Regions from separate parts of the Homo sapiens genome. Here region 2 is linked to region 1. Evidence: promoter capture Hi-C in human tissues and cell types (Jung and others, 2019). All regions are on one chromosome and are shown on one strand. The core of a region is centred on a gene start or on the middle of the fragment in contact, and the rest is flanking DNA. Distances in the headings are between cores, read along the strand shown. Region 1 holds the start of TXNDC12 (thioredoxin domain containing 12). Region 2 has its middle 17 kb from the start of TUT4.

Evidence for each region. The method cuts DNA at HindIII sites, captures the fragments that hold promoters and counts their contacts. A contact is called where the count stands out against the background at its distance.
Region 2: a contact is called between a fragment that was not itself captured here and the fragment with the promoter of TXNDC12 in region 1, in 1 of the 25 tissues and cell types used here (dorsolateral prefrontal cortex).

Annotation. Positions count from the first base shown.
Region 1 is chr1:52,053,845-52,056,506 of GRCh38, forward strand. It overlaps TXNDC12 (thioredoxin domain containing 12), which reads right to left and starts at 1,347. Exons shown (of 7, transcript NM_015913.4): 1 at 1,156-1,347. The coding sequence starts at 1,252. It overlaps BTF3L4 (basic transcription factor 3 like 4), which reads left to right and starts at 2,451. Exons shown (of 6, transcript NM_152265.5): 1 at 2,451-2,535. RefSeq lists silencers at 1,371-1,775, 2,636-2,662 and enhancers at 1,941-2,654, 2,655-2,662. The HindIII fragment of the contact is 4,769 bases long and covers 999-2,662 here.
Region 2 is chr1:52,568,410-52,571,071 of GRCh38, forward strand. No RefSeq gene overlaps it. Among named protein-coding and RNA genes, the nearest start is that of TUT4, 17 kb to the left of the region's middle. The HindIII fragment of the contact is 3,672 bases long and covers 1-2,662 here.

The DNA.
Region 1 (2,662 bases), core at 97-2,596:
CCACCAACCTCCCCAGCCTTTCTACTTCCTATTCCATCACAGTCTTATTGTTTTCCCAGCACTTGTTCCTAGTTGAAACTGTCTTATTAATTTGTTCATGAGTCTACTCTGTCTCTCTGACATGAATATAAGCTCCACCAGAGTAGGAACCTTGTCTGTCCTGTTTACAGCTATATCCCTAGTGCCTAGGACAGTGCCTGAAATATAGGAGGTGATCAAAAATTATTTACGGAATGAAGGAATGATTGCATTCAGGCAAAATGAATGCCCACCCAATCTTATTACTCACCAATAGATGTGAAAATAGAGAGGATAAGAGAAAACAAAAACAGAAGGATTGCAGCAGAATCATTCCATACAGTAAGGTCAGTGAAAAAAAAAAAAGGAAGAGGGGTTGGGATCCATGCTACAATTCATCTACTTAGAAAAGCATAAACTCTGAGTTCACAGACTGTCAGTCCAACTTTCAACTAAGTAAGGGCTGATGAGGAGAGAGGTGTTAAAACTTAGAATGGAGATGTAGGTAATGGATGGAGTAGGGGGCCACACCTCCTAACCTCCATTCATAACCACTGATCGCTCACTTACAAAAAAACTTCGCTGAACCACAGCAAGGACAATTGTTGGGGACCCTTAAACAGCAGACCTTCTACCATTCGCTTGGCTCTTCTTATGCACTAGATACAGCTACCTGGGATGCAGGTGCTGTTTCCCAAAGGCAAGCAAGTGGCAGTAACCTAGCTCTTCGCGGAAGAAGTAACGAGAGAAATCTTCAGACCCAGAACAGGGTCCTCTGCATATGCAGGTCCCCAACGGCTCTATTTCTCCCAGGTGGGAAGGTGACCGTTCCTCAGGACCTCCCAAGTGCTAGGCACTATGCTGGGCTCTTAACATGCTTTCCTTAATTTACGGGCCATTCCTTCCCCCCAATCCAATAATTTAGAGAGGCCTCAAGTACAACTTCTCCATTCCCCAGACCCGCTACTCTCTACCCCAAGAAATCTTCAAACTCCAGGAGCGGTTGGGGAAGATAAAAAGAAATCTGGAGTGGCCTAAGAGTTAGAATGGGAGGGGAACGGTGCTAGGGCAAGAAGAGATTATACTGGGATCAGTATAGTAAAGATCAGTAAAGAGAAGATAAGAACGCGGTCTGACCCTTTCCAAGCCCATTATGTCCATCAGAAGAGATGACGAGGAGCAGGAAACTGAAGCCCAGCAAACAGGTGGCCCCGAGACGAGGCCGCGTCTCCATGGCAGTAGGTGCGCGGGGCCACGGGGCTGAGCGGACGCAGGGCCGGAGTCCCAGCAGACGGTCCACACAGTTCGCCGAGCGCCGCTCAGCACAACACCTCTACTTCCCAGATTTTTTTTTTTCAAACTCTGAAGGAAGTGATGTTAGACGGATGTGGGTGGTGCCTCCGGGGTCCGGTTTGGGATGGAGTGAGCTTAAAGGTGCAGATCACGTAGAAGGGTACGAGAGCTGTTCTCGAGCGCGAGTTGCTTTTCGTGGATTCTGGGTGTCCAGGTCCCGGGACGGAGCGGGAAAATGTAGGCCAAGATAGTAGGGGCGGGGGAGAGGTTCGGGAGAACCGTTGCTCCTCGCGTCCGCCACCCAGTCCAGCCCCTCCCCCCAAGAACCGCTGCACTTCCTAGTCAAAAGCAAATTATTGATTCGTGAGGTCAGTCGCTCCCAACAGTGGGCGGATTGCCCACTGGCCTCGGATTCTCCTTACCCCTCCACAAATCAAGACTGGACAACTGGATTTCATTGTTAGGTTCCTGCGAGGGTCTCTGAGGAGACCTGGCAAGCCTGTTCTGCGGTGCGTGGGCTCGTGCCGTGCAGACATGCACTTTCCCGCTGGAGAAGCTCTGTACCTTATTTTTCCTTGCAACCGCAAATCTTCTACTCAGGGATGATGCAACCAACTGATGCAAGCTCCAAGAAAACCAAACTTGGGACCTCTTATTGCAAAACTGACTTAGGTGGACTTAGGACACCAGGATATAAGTCACTGCAGGCTAAAGTGTAAAGCTTCTGGTTATTTTTCTTGTAGCTTGAGGATTTCTTCCCAATTTTTCCCCTTCGCTGTATAACAAACAGGTGAAAATGTCCGGTCTTTTTCTTCCTGGTACTAGTTGAGTCCTAAAGTCCGTACTTAATGCATAGCGAAAAAGCGACCTAACAAAAGTACACACCCAAATAAAAACATACCGACCACCCTTTTATTAGGTTCCCTAAAATTGTAGGCAGGGACACAACAGAACGCTCGGGAGACTGCAAGCCCCAGGATGCCGCGCGGCCACCTGCACCTGCCGCCACTAGCACTAAGAGGGATGCGCAAAGCAGGCGGGGCGTTGGAGTTCAGATGTTCGCTCCCGGGATAGGCTGCCCCGGAGAGGGAGAGGCGGGGTCGGCTGTATCACGTGGATCTGCTCCCGCCGCCGCCGCCGCCGCCGTCGTCTTTCTCTGTCTCGGCTGAGGCAGCCATCTTTCTCTTGCCGCGTGCTGGTGTTGGAGGACCCTCCCTGCTTCAGGTGAGACCCCCGGCGGTCCCGCCACTTCACGGCCATAGGCCGCTGCGCACGGTCTCCCCCCGCCCTCCCCTTCCGACACCCGCCAACCGCTCAGGCTGCCACTTCCGCCGTGGTGCGGCGAGCGGGG
Region 2 (2,662 bases), core at 71-2,570, 510 kb after region 1:
CTCAGACTTTTAGTCCTTTCCTCCTCTCTCAAGGGGACACAGCTGACCTTTCCTAGGAGTAGCCTCTTTTTTTGTCCCCAAACTTCTCACCCCTGGGCTCTTCTATTCTCTTCAAATGGCACACATGCCATCCCTGAATTTGCAGGAGTTTCTTTCTGCCTGTTTCACGCCAAATATAGCTTTTTTTTTTTCACACCATGTTACCAAGGAATAATCTTAGTAGACCACTGTTAATACTTCTAGACCCCACCATGACTTCCTTCTGGTATTTATCCTCATCATACACTCCACGAAAGGATCACTTATATTATGCCCATATTTTCCTCATTCTATCCAAATCAGGATACATAAGAGCAGAAGTCTAAGCCTACTTATAATTACAATAAGATAGGATATTTGAAATCTGGGCTGTCCTCGGAAATCTGGGACATAATGTTGCTATAAATGCCACCTATCCAGAATCCAGCTCTCAAGCAGTTTCATAAGCAAGCACTCTGAACATCCTCAGCATTGTCAGGAAGTTTGTATATTACACTCAGACTAAAAAAGGATTTCCTCTCATTTTGTCCATTCTGGGAATCAGAATTTTGACTGCACATCAGGTGGGGTCTGGCCATCCAGGTTGCTATCTAGAAATCACCACATAGGGGGATTCTTCACAAAAAGTTTTTGTGAGCTTTTTATGAAAAATCTTTCACTGAGGCCAGGCGCAGTGGCTCACACCTGTAATCCCAGCACTTTGGGAGGCCAAGGGGCGCAGATCATCTGAGGTCAAGAGTTCAAGACCAGCCTGGACAACATGGTGAAACCCCATCTCTACTAAAAATAGAAAAATTACACGGGTGTGGTGGCAGGCACCTGTAATCCCAGCTACTTGGGAGGCTGAGGCAGGAGAATCGCTTGAACCCAGGAGGCAGAGGTTGCAGTGAGCTGAGATCGCGCCATGGCACTCCAGCCTGGGTGACAGAGTGAGACTACATCTCAAAAAAAAAAAAAAGAAAATCTTTCACTGAGAAAGGTTGAACCCAAGTCTGAAATGAAAGCATACAGTTTACTACCCATTGATTGATTTATGCAGAAATCTGTATAAAGATCTCCAAAGGTGGCTTAGTAGGTTCTGTTTTAAACTTTCAGTTCCTCCTCCCTAGAAAGTTAGGGAAACCTCTTAACCAATACGAGTTCCTCTGATCTGAGCTGAACTTTCCTTCTTCCACTATCCAAATTCTGCTGATTCTTTTCTGTCCAGGATATTCATCTAAGTCACCATGGTTGTATATGCTCAAGGTTCACTTTAAGTACAGTCTTAATCTTGTTTCTGAGGAAGTTTGCTTTCTCCAGTAGGTCTGCAAAACTTCCGCTTCTTATTTCCTATTGCCCCTGAAATGACATTTCTCCTTGTGAATTAATATGGGCCTGCCTACCTCTAGGTAATCCTGTTTTTGTCATGTATCTGTATTGCATTTTCTGTCCACTTTTGTCCTCTCTTACAGTGAAGGGAGCATTTTAAACTTTTTTGTTTCCATAGAACAGTAACTTGCTGGTTGGAAGACCCGAGTTTAACATGGACCCTCGGAGAAACATGACCCCCGGAGAAACATGGAGAGCCTGAGACATCCTGTGTAATTCAATAAATATCCACCCACTCCCACCCCCACCTTTGCTGGCTACAGCAGCTGGGGAAGTCAGAGGGAAGGAGGTTTTTTATGTTTTGTTTTGTTTTGTTTTGTTTTGGAGACGGAGTTTTACTCTTGTCGCCCAGGCTGGAGTGCAATGGCATGATCTCAGCTCACTGCAACCTCAGCCTCCTGGGTTCAAGCAATTCTCCTGTTTCAGCCTCCTGAGTATCTGGGATTACAGGCACACACCAAATCGCCTGGCTAATTTTTTGCATTTTTAATAGAAACAGAGTTCCACCATGTTAGCCAGGCTGGTCTCGAACTCCTGACCTCAGGTGATCTGCCCGCCTCGGCCTCCCAAAGTGCTGGGATTACAGGCGTGAGCCACCGCGCCTGGCCGGAAGGAGTTATTTTTGAGCATTTTATGCTGCTCAGTCTTGTGCAGACCGCACATACTGTAGAGTTCATGCACTTTTCTCCCAGTAGTGACTTTCAGCTCTTGCTTTACATGTAGTTCCAACAAGCTTGGATATTTAGTTTCCATGTCTATAGCAGATCAAAATTAACAATTAATGGGTGGGGGTTGGGAGGCCAGAATAAGATAGTTAAAAGCACAGATTCTGGAGTCAAACTGAGTCTTTGAATCCTGTGCTGCTGCTTCCTAACTGTATGACTTTGAAGTATTTAACCTTTTAGCTTCAATTTCCTCATCTGTAAAATGGGAATAATAATAATAGCTATTTTGCACAGTTGGTCATAAAGATTAAATAAGTTAATATATATGAGGTGCCTGCATTTGTAAGTACTCTGTGAGTATAGAGAGGGCGCATTGGTAACAGTACTGATGAGATGTAGCAAAGAAGCAAACCAACCAAAAAAAGCGGAGAAAACAGAGCAATCTAGGATCCAACTGTGTAAGACAGAGGTTCCCAAACTTTCTCAGCTCAAAGGCACCTTTAGTGTCTCAGTAATTTTTTCATGGTGACTTCTCCATGCCCACTCCTCCTACAAAAAAACCAAAGTAATAATTCTCTTTATTAAGTAGT